2 separate regions of the Homo sapiens genome follow, and region 2 is linked to region 1. The links are contacts of gene promoters, found by promoter capture Hi-C in human tissues and cell types (Jung and others, 2019). All regions are on one chromosome and are shown on one strand. The core of a region is centred on a gene start or on the middle of the fragment in contact, and the rest is flanking DNA. Distances in the headings are between cores, read along the strand shown. Region 1 holds the start of MSANTD2 (Myb/SANT DNA binding domain containing 2). Region 2 overlaps MSANTD2-AS1 (MSANTD2 antisense RNA 1).

What was found. The method cuts DNA at HindIII sites, captures the fragments that hold promoters and counts their contacts. A contact is called where the count stands out against the background at its distance.
Region 2: a contact is called between a fragment that was not itself captured here and the fragment with the promoter of MSANTD2 in region 1, in 7 of the 25 tissues and cell types used here (H1 embryonic stem cells, IMR-90 fibroblasts, aorta and 4 more).

What each region holds. Positions count from the first base shown.
Region 1 is chr11:124,796,120-124,802,442 of GRCh38, reverse strand. It overlaps MSANTD2 (Myb/SANT DNA binding domain containing 2), which reads left to right and starts at 2,037. Exons shown (of 4, transcript NM_001308027.2): 1 at 2,037-2,572. The coding sequence starts at 2,063. It overlaps MSANTD2-AS1 (MSANTD2 antisense RNA 1), which reads right to left and starts at 2,015. Exons shown (of 5, transcript NR_103862.1): 1 at 1,187-2,015; 2 at 286-459. RefSeq lists silencers at 1,685-2,354, 2,395-2,634, 3,035-3,114, 3,345-3,394 and an enhancer at 1,851-2,458. The HindIII fragment of the contact is 9,762 bases long and covers 1-5,380 here.
Region 2 is chr11:124,833,267-124,839,390 of GRCh38, reverse strand. It overlaps MSANTD2-AS1 (MSANTD2 antisense RNA 1), which reads right to left. Exons shown (of 5, transcript NR_103862.1): 5 at 4,904-6,124. Among named protein-coding and RNA genes, the nearest start is that of ROBO3, 29 kb to the left of the region's middle. The HindIII fragment of the contact is 4,862 bases long and covers 2,076-6,124 here.

The sequences.
Region 1 (6,323 bases), core at 788-3,287:
GAGATCACACCACTGCACTCCAGCCTCAGTGACAGAGTGAGACCCTGTCTCCCACACACACACACACACACACACACACACACACACACCCCTCTTTGGAATCTCTGATTTAGTATATGATTTAGGCACAACTCTCCCTTTCATACACACCAAATACCTTATGACATTAAAACATTTATCACTGGGCTGAATGAGAGTTAATTTTGTTTTGATAGATGTTTCAGATTCTTTTACAGTCCTCACACAATGTTTACTGTGAACCAGGCACCGTTCTAAGGACTTTACCTGTATTAATTCTCTCAACAATGCTGTGACGTCATCCTCATTTTACAGATGAAGAAAACAAGGCACTGAGAGCTTGGTTAAGTAACTTTGCTGAGGTCGCAGAACTGGAATTTGAAGCCTGGCAGTCTGACTTTAGAGTCCATATTCTTAACTGAGGTGCTAGACTGCATCTTTCTTTGGAAAAAAGGGAAGAGGATATCATAAATTCGGGAACTTCCTCAGGCTTCTTCTGTTAGCTTACAAACTATGGTTAGCATTTTCATATGACATACGAGAACAATTATCTCCTCCTCTACTTTATCCCTATTGCTTAATCCTTTGGCTTTTCAGTAACACCCAAAGACAACCAGTCATTCTCTCCAGTGAGTCTCAGAGTTAAAAATTTAGCTGTCTTCAATAAGAATGATACATTGGACTTTGGGGACTCGGGAGCTCAGGGGTAAGGGGAAGGCTAATGAGGGACAAAAGACTACACATTGGATACAGTGTACATTGCTCGGACGCACCAAAATCTCAGAAATCACCACTAAAAACCTTATTCATGTAACCAAACGCCACCTGTTACCCCCAAAAATCGATTGAAATAAAACAATAATTTAAAAAAGCACATACCCCCCAAAACATAGTTGACCTCAGCTTAAAAAAAACTAACATACATTTGTTATTTTAAAAAATATTGCATAGTTTATTTGCATTCATTGGTCAGCATCCTCAGTTATGTCTGCTTTGAAAGAAAAATCCGCTGAGGTTTTAAGTTAATGATCCAAGATATCCAATTAAGATTTTCAGCTTTGAAAAATATGGAAATACGGTACAGCTGTGTACTGGATGTGCTGTGCTACTGTTAAGTTCCAGCACTTTAAGGAACGTTTCAGGAGTGACTAATACACTAATTCATTACCAGAGGTCACAGAGCTGTCATAATTGACAGTGTTCTTTGAGTACGAAAAACCGGAAAACGATGCAACTTCCAAAGCACGGAGGATGGAGACTGGTATTGGAAAGTAACTTTTCTGCTGGGCTCAGGAGTTTTTATATGCTCAAGCTATAGACAACTGTACCAACGCAATAGACTAATGTAATCTAACTATTCTACAAACGGCCACACCTACCCAGACTAACTGGAAAACAATAGTTTATAACTGGAATTAAATAGTTGCTGTTCTTTAATTAATGAGATCGGTGTTCTTGAAAAGCTACAGCGTACGAACTCTACCCTGGTCCATATCTGCTTTTTAAAGCCTTCCCCAGAACCGCTCTCACTTCAGCCTTGGTGCCTTCCCGGATATACCCTCCAGAGGCTTCCCCGGTCCCCATCCTGGACGTCAGCCTCTGCACCTAGAGGCCGGCTTAGAGGGAAGACGGGCAGAGGCGGGGGAGACAGGAGAGAGAGAAACGGTCTATTCCTCCTTAACTCCGGGCCCCCTCGAGGGCCTCACCCCTCCTCCCGGGGGCTGAGATTGGAGAGGAAGTGGGAAGGCTCCAATCTGTTCCTCACTCCAGCGCCCTCATGCCCCCACCCTTCTCTTCAGCTCGGGGCTTCGGCGCGCCTCGTCCCCGCCCTTCGCCCCGGGAGAGGAGCGGGCGGCGTGGGAGGGCTCGCGGAGAAAGGCCCAGGGGAGTGGACGACCTCCGCCCGGCAGCCACATCCTCAGCAGCAGAGACCCGGAGCCATCCGCCCGCGGGCGAGCCAGGCCCGAGGGCAGCCCCGGAGACCGCGGTGGCCGGATGCGCGGGCGCGTCACTTCCGGGCGGTGCAGCGGCGGCCGCTTGGAAGATGGCTGCGCCCTGTGGCTCGGAGCTGCCCGCCAACTCGCCGCTAAAAATTCCGAAGATGGAGGTGCTTTCCCCGGCTTCTCCTGGTGGCCTGAGCGACGGAAATCCATCGCTGTCCGACCCTTCCACGCCTCGGGGTGCCTCCCCGCTCGGGCCGGGCAGTGCGGCGGGCTCGGGGGCAGCGGCGTCCGGGGGTCTCGGGCTGGGGCTGGGGGGCCGCAGCGCCGCCTCGTCCTCGGTCTCCTTCTCCCCTGGTGGCGGCGGTGGCGGGGCTGCGGCAGCCGCCGCCGCCGCCTGCCGGGGCATGTCGTGGACGCCAGCCGAGACGAACGCGCTCATCGCAGTGTGGGGCAACGAGCGGCTGGTGGAGGCGCGGTACCAGCAGCTGGAGGGAGCCGGCACGGTGTTCGGCAGCAAGGCCCCCGGGCCAGCCATGTACGAGCGCGTGTCCCGGGCCCTGGCCGAGCTGGGCTACGAGCGGACCCCGTCCCAGTGCCGGGAGCGCATCAAGGTAACCGGCCGCCCGGCCTGGGGCAGCGAACCAGAGGCAGAGAGAAGGCGGGGAAGCGGGCCTCGGGGGCGGGGGCCGGTCTGAGGGCAGGGCTCTCCTCCGGGGCCCGGTGGGCGATTCGCATCTCCTCCGCCTTTTTCTTCTCTCCCTGGGAAGGGGGCTTTTTCCCAGATGGCCGCCAGCCCGTAGGTTTCCTGAGTTTGAAGTTGGGCGTGCCTGCCGCCGCCCCTCTTTCTTGCCAATTGAGATGTTCCTGCGCTCTGAAGTTGGTAGTTTCTCATTGTGCGCCGTGCGGCAGTCCCCGTGCCGCTGGCGCCTCTTGCCCCCACCGCCGGGGCCCCTCGCTTTGTTCCAGGCGGAGGGGCTCCCAGGCAGAGGCTTACCGGCCGGGGCAGGATTGAGGAAGGGCAGAAGGGGGGGGCATTGAGCCCCTAGTTTAGGAATAGTTAATAAGTGGCCGTAGCGGAGCCATAGAAAAAGCGCCTTGGGACGACTGGCCTTTGTGTCAGTCGCTTTGCTTCTATCTTGAGCTACGAAGGACGAGTAAGACTAGAGATGCTTTGGAGAATTGGAAAGGCTTGATTGTAGCCAGATTGTGTATTGTTACCGCGGAGTTAGTGTACACCATAAAAGTTAGCTTGGCCAAGAGTTGGTCTGGAATTTGGATTGTCGATGCCTCCAGAGTTAGATTGGCTTGAGGCCCTGCGGTTTCTTAGGAAGCTCCTTCAGGAAAGCCAGTTTTTCCCTGCTTCAGTTTCTGTGCCGGATGTGGTGACAAGTAGAACTCTCAGTGTGCATCTGGCCGTCCTTGTGTACCTGCATGTTTAAATGCAGAGGCTTAATTTGGGCTAGAAATCTTAGCCAGGTTAAGATTTTGCTACTAGAACTGACTCTAGGCTTTCATATTTGTATTATTGGCAGATAAGGAGTTGTATTTTAGTTAAGCTCATTTCCTCATCGTAGTGGCTGCTAAAAAGATTGTGATAGGATTCTCCCAGTTTTTACTGAACTACTTATCCTATTATCTGTGCACTTCTTTTCTGATACAGCTGGCACTTTTTCTGGGAACTTCTTGAGGGGGGATAAAAACCACCAAGAACAATTATAAAATAAGAATGATCACACTAAAGAGCAATAATAAAGTCTAATAGGCGCAATCATGAGTTAGAGTAAGCTAAAGGAGGGAAATTGCACCAAAGTTCTCCAGGTCTTGGCTCCAGTAGTATTTCTTTGGGGATGTTGTTGCTTAGAAAACTGGGTCCACAAACTAAGATATTTAAAACCTACTATTGTTCAAGGAATTTGCCACCCATTAATTACTCCATTACAAATTTAAATTAGTGTATTTGATAACATTTATCTTTGGGACTTCTTAAGCTTTCTCTTTTTTTAACAAAGACATTAAAGTAGTAGCTAATAGGACAAAGCTACTCTTCTCTGAATCTCATTTGTTCTATTCAACGTCATTAAGGTTAAATTTTAATTTTTATTTATTTATATTTAGAGAGAGGATCTCCCTCTCTTGCCCAACCTGAAGAACTCCTGGGCTCAAACAATCCTCCCCAGTAGCTAGGACTGCAGGCATGCCCCACCACACCTGGCTCATTAAATTTTTTTTTTTTTTTTTTTTTTTTTTAAGAGACAGGGTCTTCTACGTTGCTCAGGCTGGTTTTAGCTCCCTGGTCTCAAGCTGTCCTGCCTCAGTCTCCCAAAGCACTAGGATTACAGGCGTGAGCCACCGTGCCCAGCCAAGGTTAAATTTTTGGGAGACTTTTTGTACTGTCTTGGCTAGCGTCTATCCATGACCTCTTCTTGAGTTTAGAAGTGCATTTTAGGCATTTTAAACTGTTTCAGCTTGATTGATTTCTGTCTGTAGAAACTTCCCAATCACGCAGAAAAAGTGTGTTGTCAAAACCTCACTGAATATAAATCTCTCCATAAAATTGTTTCTCAACCAGGGAGTATCTAATTGGGTTGTTTCATTGTCCAGTTATGAGAAGGATAACTTAAAGCAAGAAAAGGAGATTTATTTGAATAATTTTTAGAAGAGGATTGGTTTACCTGTGTCCAGACAGGTAAAACCAAGTTGACCTCAAGCTCTTAGGGTATTTTGGGAATGTGCTGATGAGTATGGGTTCTCTGATCCATAGTAGCTGTTAACAAGGAGGGCAGATAACTGTTTTGTGTTTTAAAGTGCTCTACTCTTTATGTGATTTCAATCAAAGAACCCAGACTTTTTCATTAGTAATGTTGAGTGTTCCTGCCAGAATGATAAGCTCTCTAAGGACAGGTTCTGGTCTCTCTTACTCACTGCTGTACTAGCATATAGTAGACACTACATTTTTTTTAATTTGTTTTATGTTTATTTTTAATGGAGGCAGGGTTTTGCTCTGTTGCCTAAGCTGGAGTGCAGTAACGTGATCATAGCTCACTGCAGCCTTGAACTCCTGGACCTAAGTGATGCTCCCACCTCAGCTTCCTGAGTAGCTAGGACTACAGGCATTTACTACCACGCCCAGCTAATTTTTAAATTTTGTATTTTTGTTTTTTTAGAAGCAGGGTCTCACTGTGTTGCCTAGACTGGTCTCAAACTCCTAGAATCAAGCGATCCGCCTGCCTTGGCCTCCCAAAGTGCTGGGATTATAGGCGAGAGCCACCACATCCGGCCTTATTTAATTAATTCACCAAATAAAGTCTAGAAAGAGAATATTGGAAAATATAAAAATCTGCAGCAGTATTATTCAATAATACTGCTGTTTAACGAAAAAACAGACTTTGGAACCCAGTCTGAAGAATACTGCATTTAAGGAGATTTAGTGTGAATGTAATCTTCAGCACAGAAGCAAATGTGGTCACTGAAATCATATTCCTACACAATTATGAAGTGGATGTTCAAGTAACTCAGATTATGCTTATGAAAATAAAACTGCTATCTTAAAATCTCAGAGAATCTCAAACCTCTGAAAAGAAGTCATTAGATCCCAGTTTCAGAAATGCAGATTTAAAACAAGTAGTTCAAAAATCTCTTTCACTTTGTGTTGATGAGAACTACAAAAAGAAACTTAGTAATACTTTTTGCTTTAGATTTTACAAAATAGAAGCAAAGTAGTAAGATGTGGAAAAGGAAAAGGAGGAACTTCTTACGCAGACTAAAGTACATGTGAACTCAATGTCAGAGGCTCACAGAGAAGGAATATGTGTGAGTCAATTACATTTCTGGGCTAATATATTTGAAATTCCTGTCAAAAATTCAATTATGAGCCGGGTACAGTAGCGCTTCCCTGTTGTCCCAGCTACTTTAGAGGGTGAGGTGGGAGGATCGCTTGAGCTCATGAATTTGAGGCTGCAGTGTGCCATGATCATAGCACCTGTAAATAGCCACTGTACTCCAGCTTGGGCAACATAGTGAGACCTGGTCTCTTAAAAAAAAAGAATTCAACTATGAAAACCCAGTAAATAATTTCTTCTAACTTTAAAAGGAAGAGCTATATAGCAACTTTAATTTTTCCATGCAAACCTTCCTTTAGTCAGATAATTTCTGATTAGCAGCCTTCCTCACATTGTATAAAGGATCAGAAAGCTGAGCCTTATTGCACCCTTTTCTGACCACCTTCCTGAATCACCTTAAAGCATGTCACTTACCTTCTTTGGACTGTGCCTTGGTCCTCTTATCTATACAGTAAAAATACTAAAATTATAAGTATTGAAATTGAATTAATAATTTAACTCTTGGATTTTGAGACTAACATCC
Region 2 (6,124 bases), core at 3,257-5,756, 34 kb before region 1:
CGGGAGGGGTCTCAGCTGGGGCTGCAGTTGGTAAAGAGGCCGTGGAGAGGCCGGCGGCGGCCCGAGGAGGAGCCATAAATTTGGAGCAGATGCGGCCTGACAGTCACCCAGCCCGGGGAGGTGGGGGAGGGCTCTACGCCCCTCCCAGGCCGCGTCTTCTGGTTTGCAGCTGAGTTAGATGGATTCCAGGCCGAGGTGACCCGGGACTTTGGACACACGGAGCCTGTGCTCCTCACTCCCCCACCTCTGCCGGCCGCCCATTGTGTGCCCACGTGCAGGGAGAAGGAATAGGGGGCAGGGACATGTCTGCATTGGCTTATGATTTTCCCCCTAAAAAATGTCGTTTTCCAGCAGAGACTGTGACAAAGTCGGCCACCCTGGCTCTGAGCTGGCGCTTTTTGACAGCAGCCAGAGAAAAATATGGAAGATAGTAGAAGCAAGCTTCAGCTGTTCATTCTGCACTATTTTTTAAGTGCCTGTTTTGTGCTAGAAAGGTAAGGAGGCACAGGCATACAGGATGGGGAGATGGGAAAAGGTGGCGGAAAAAATACCAAGGACTAATACTTGCCATACTATAAGTATTGTGTGTACTGTAATTCTGCACATTAAATAGTATTTTCCTTTAGAAAGTGGCAGTTCCTCCAGCAGAGGAGGGAGCAGGGTGCAGTGTCTCGGGGGGTTGATGGAGTTCGCTCTCAATCCAGGTATCCCATCCACAAATATATGCGTGTCAGGGGTGCTTTCCGCGGATCTGGAAGGGAGTGAAAAGAGCTGGAGCTGCACCCAGGTGGGGTGGACACAGCCCTATTTATCTTATTTGCTCTGGGTACTGTAGGGATTCTTCTCTAGTGTCGCTTTAATTGAAGACTGAGTCTCCCATCTGAAGATCTTGTGACCAAGGGTGATTGGAGGGTCAGTGTCCACAAAGCTGGTGCTCAGTTGGCAAAAACCTCTGCCACCTCCCTTTGTGGCTGTTCTCTGCTCCCTCTAACACTCTGGGCTGGACTGGGTAACTAGATTGGCTTCTAGGACCCATTGCTTCTCCCCTTAGCTCCCACTCCGACAAGTCTCCCTGGTCTGTGCCCAGAGGATCACCCTAAGACTAGAGCAAGCTTGTGCAACCCACGGCCCATGGGCCGCATGCAGACCAGAACACCTTTGAATGCGGCCCAACACAAATTCATATATGTTCTTAAAACATGATGAGGTTTTTTGCAAAAAAAAAAATTTTTTAGCTAGTGTATTTTATGTGTGGCCCAAGACAATTCTTCTTCCAATGTGGCAGGGAAGCCGAAAGATTGGACACCCCTGGACTAGAGATTCACAGCTTGCATGAAAATCACCTGGAGGCCTTATTAACCCTGCCCTACAGTTTCTGATTCCTTTGATCTGGGGTACGGGCAGAGATATTGCATTTCTGAAAGTTTCCCAGGTGGTGACAGTGGTGATACTGGGGGCCACACTTTGAGAGTACTGGCCTACAAGGAAAGGAAAATAGGGGCAGGTGAAAAAAGGAAGGAGCTGAAGTCTTCAGTGCTGGAGGAGGTTACTGGAAGCTGAAGCTCTCCAGGGTACTTGGGTATCTTCACCCTCTGTGAGGGATCCATAGGCCAAATCCCCAAATAATTGTGGACATATTCCAGAATTCATATTCTAGTATTCGAGTGTGTGTGTGTGTGTGTGTGTGTGTGTGTGTTTCTGAAGACTTAGCACTCCCCCTAATGGCTTCAGATGATTCTGCACTCTCCTCAGCCTTTCAACGGGAAGCAAGAATTACTCTTATTTTCCCAGCCTAACTTGGTTATCCACTCCCATCTCTTTGTCACTGATGGAGCGGGGCATTGTCTTACACATTTGTTTACAAATTGAAGAGCATAGTTTTTTTTTACACAATAGTTTGTGTACTAATGAATGAATTAGTGCTATCTTTCCTCTTTAGGAGAACCTTGTTCTCCTAAAATCTACCTTAAGTCACATTTGAAGTGTTGTAGAACCACCTACCAGTGTTCTAAAACACTTCAAATGTGTTCATAGGGAATGAGTTCCAGATGGTTGCCTAAAAATTCTCCCCAAGGTGTCGGTGCCGTTGTCATCAGTTGGGAACTTTTGGCTGGCGGCAAGCACAACCCGAGTCAGAGGTTAAGGATGGATTTGCAAAGTGGAATTTTTAAGTGTGGTATATGGACAGATCAGATGAGAAAATCAAGTGGCATTTTATTTCTCACCACCAGGTGGCAGACCTAACCTCATTAATGAGAATCATCCCTAGACTTGAAGCCTGGCCTGAATTCTACTTTTTTCATATATGAGCCAGGGCAAAAGAGCTGTTTCTCTACTTAAATGACTCAGAAATTTGGGGTAGGGAGAACAATGCTTGAAAATATCTTTGTAGGCCGCGGTGGCTCACGCCTGTAATCCCAGCACTTTGGGAGGCCGAGGCGGGTGGATCACGAGGTCAGGAAATCGAGACCATCCTGGCTAACACGGTGAAACCCCGTCTCTACTAAAAATACAAAAAATTAGCCGGGTGTCGTGGCGGGCGCCTGTAGTCCCAGCTACTTGGCAGGCTGAGGCAGGAGAATGGCGTGAACCCGGGAGGCGGAGCTTTGCAGTGAGCCGAGATCGCGCCACTGCACTCCAGTCCGGGCAACAGAGCGAGACCCCGTCTCAAAAAAAAAAAAAAAAAAAAAGAAAATATCTTTGTAACTGCCGCCAATGTACTTGAGTAATCCCTTGAGCTTCCTGATCCGTGAGGAAGGGCTCGCTGATACTTTTTTTTCCTTCTGGAAAGAGGGAAAACATATGGATGTAACAAAATGGGTTACTTAAGAAAAATGTAAGCGATCTAACTTCTAACCAGAGGTTTCTGCCAGGGCATAAACACATGGCAGCCCTAAACAGCTTTGCAGGCACATGGCTTCCTTCACTTCCAGCCCGTCTGGCAGGCACCCTCTTAATTCCTACCAACTTAATTCCTACCACCCGAGTTCTTTGTTCTGTCGCCCATATTGAAGTTTCCTCAAACTAAAAATGAAAGCTTTATTATAATTCTGGAATCTACTCAGGGCCTTCTTAACTAAATTCTAACTTGCAGTATACGGACATGTAGTTGATCTCTCCTTTATCCCAAATGATCTTGACCCTCAGATCATAGTCAACGTATAAATTAAATTCAACCTAAATTATATAACTATAGCAAGGGTTACACACACACAGCAAGAATGCAGGACGGGCGCGGTGGCTCATGACTGTAATCTCAGCACTTTGGGAGGTCAAGGTTGGCGGATCACCTTAGATCAAGAGTTCAAGACCAGCCTGGCCAACATGGCAAAACTCCATCACTACTAAAAATATAAAACTTAGCCAGGTGTGGTGGCGTGTGCCTGTAGCCCCAGTTCTCAAGAGGCTGAGACACGAGAATCTGCTTGGGAACCTGGGAACCTTGAACCTGGAAGGCTGAGATTGTAGTGAGCCAAGACTGCACCACTGCACTCCAGCCTGGGCAACAGAGCGAGACTCTGTCTAGAAAAAATAATAATTATATATATATATATATCTTACAGGAGGGGTCAATGAATGTTTTGGGAGAAGGGCAGTGAAGATTTCTGTTCTACACACCTTTCTCATCTCAGGGCTATATTACAGCAGATTCTGACAGTATAGTAGCTTTCTTCACAATGTCAAGATCAGAGCAGATCTATACCTTACATAGAAGACAGAAAATTGACTATACCAACATCAGGTCCTCCAGCATAGGTGGGACATTACCTTTTCAGCCTGCAGGGCTTAGTACTTCTTTCAGCTGATCGGCTTCAGGCCTCTTCCTCATTTTGGAAAGGGCAAATCTCAGGTGCACACTGAAAATCTTAGACTAAGTAGCCTGGTACAGTGGCTCACGCCTGTAATCCCAGCACTTTGGGAGGCCGAGGAGGGTGGATCACGAGGTCAAGAGATCGAGAACATCCTGGCCAACATGGTGAAACCCTGTCTCTACTAAAAATACAAAAATTAGCCAGGCGTGGTGACATGCACCTGTACTCCCAGCTATTCGGGAGGCTGAGGCAGGAGAATCGCTTGAACCCAGGAGGCGGAAGCTGCAGTGAGCCAAGATCATGCCACTGCACTCCAGCCTGACGGCAGAGCCAGACTCCGTCTCACAAAAAAAAAAAAAGAAAATCTTAGACTAAGTAAAACCCTCCAGCCCAGAGTGCTTCTCTGCATTGGGCAATTCACTCTCACTGCCAGAGCTCCCTTATACACTTTAAATGCTTATAAATACACTAACAGACAGAGCCTATGGGAAACAATATAAGAGGATTGGATAGTAAGTATTTGGTTTTTTCTATGTAGTTTGTTAACAGAATCAGTCAAAATATATTTATGGAATGCCCACAGGCTACATAGCATGGTACTTCACCCTTCATTGAAAATCCATTAAAACAATTACTGGGTCATGCCTGGAAACTTTTTTCACAAAGGAATTTTCTTTAGTTGCTGGGTTGACAGGAACTAATTTGAGATGCAAAACTAACAACCCCATTTGAACTAGCAAGCCCTTATGTAAACCACTACAAGTGATATGTTTGAATTTATTCGCACCTGTGCCTGTATATATGGACTTAAAAGCTAAAGATATCGTGGTATTAATATGCATATAAGGGAAGGAGAGTTTTAAAAGTTAGTGAATCATCTTCCACTAATGCTTGGTAAATGTTTACCAAGAAGGTTGTGCCCTGGTTATAGGCCGGTAATGACCACCAATAAATAAAACTGTTTTCACCTCTATAACAGTTATGGAATGTCATTCCTTCTTGCCTTTCATACCAGGAAAACTAGGCTGAAGAAAAAAATCACTTCTTTTTAATCAAGGCAAAAACAGACTCACCCAACCAAAAACCAACCCTTGGTATTTGAAATTAGTTTATTAACATAGGGAGATTTCATATTTTTTTATTGTTTTCTCCCACCACTAACTTTAAGACTTTAACAACCTTTATTAGAATACACACACAGCTATATATATATATTTGGTTCTGTCTTCTCTAAATCATTTGTTTAACAAGGAATTTTTTTACTTAAGGCACTGGTATAGAAAATGTACCCCATTTCTTGCATATCTTGCATGTTATGGGGTCTTGTTAAGTGTTTCCAAGTTTGGTGGAATCACCACCATTTCTACCCCTGGTCCATATTTTTAGTTCCAGATCTTCTCTGCAACCACTATCCCAGTCCAAAACCCTCTACTGTATTCGCTGTCTTCTTAGTGCGGAGGAGAAAGAAAGAGCAGGGTTGGGCAGAGGGTCTTATTCTGCCTTAAAAGAAGGTTATACTTTCTGTCAAAGGATAGAACTCTGACTGACTTAACGAAAAATACAGTAGTATAAGTTTAGACCCAAGGTCAGATAGTCCTGGGGCTAAAGCTCAGATCCATCACTTAGCAATTATGTGATTTGCTGCAAGTCACCTAACTTCTCTGAGCCAAGGCTGCCCTTCTCACTTGTAAAGTGAAGCTTAAATAAGATAATACATATGAAAGGCTGGGTGTGGCAGTTGCACCTTAGTCCTTGCACTTTGGGAAGCCAAGGCCTGTGGAGCCCTTGAGCTCAGGAGTTCAAGATCAGCCTAAGCAACATGGCAGTAAGCTGTCTCTACAAAAAATACAAAAATATGCTGGCTGTGGTGGCATGTGCCTGTATTCCTAGCTACTTGGGAGGCTGAGGTCAGGAGTTCAAGACTAGCCTGAGCAACATAGTAACAACCCGTCTCTACAAAAAATACAAATATGCTGGTCATGGTAGTGCATGCCTGTAATCCCAGCTATTCAGGAGGCTGAGGTGGGAGGATCGCTTAAGCCCTGCAGATTGAGGCTACAGTGAGCTGTGTTAGTGCCACTGCACTCCAGCCTGGGAGATAGAGTGAGACCCTGTCTCAAAAAGAAAAAAAAAATGCACATGAAATGCTTAATGTCTGCCCTACTACAATGCATCAGAGAATAGAAGTTATTAGTATCTACCGGACCCAAACCTCTGTGAGAATAGAAGCTTGCTTCACTTCTGTTGCTTTGGGCAAAACTTCACCTGTGATCAAGAGAGTATGTGTGTGTGATACTGTGAAATATATATTT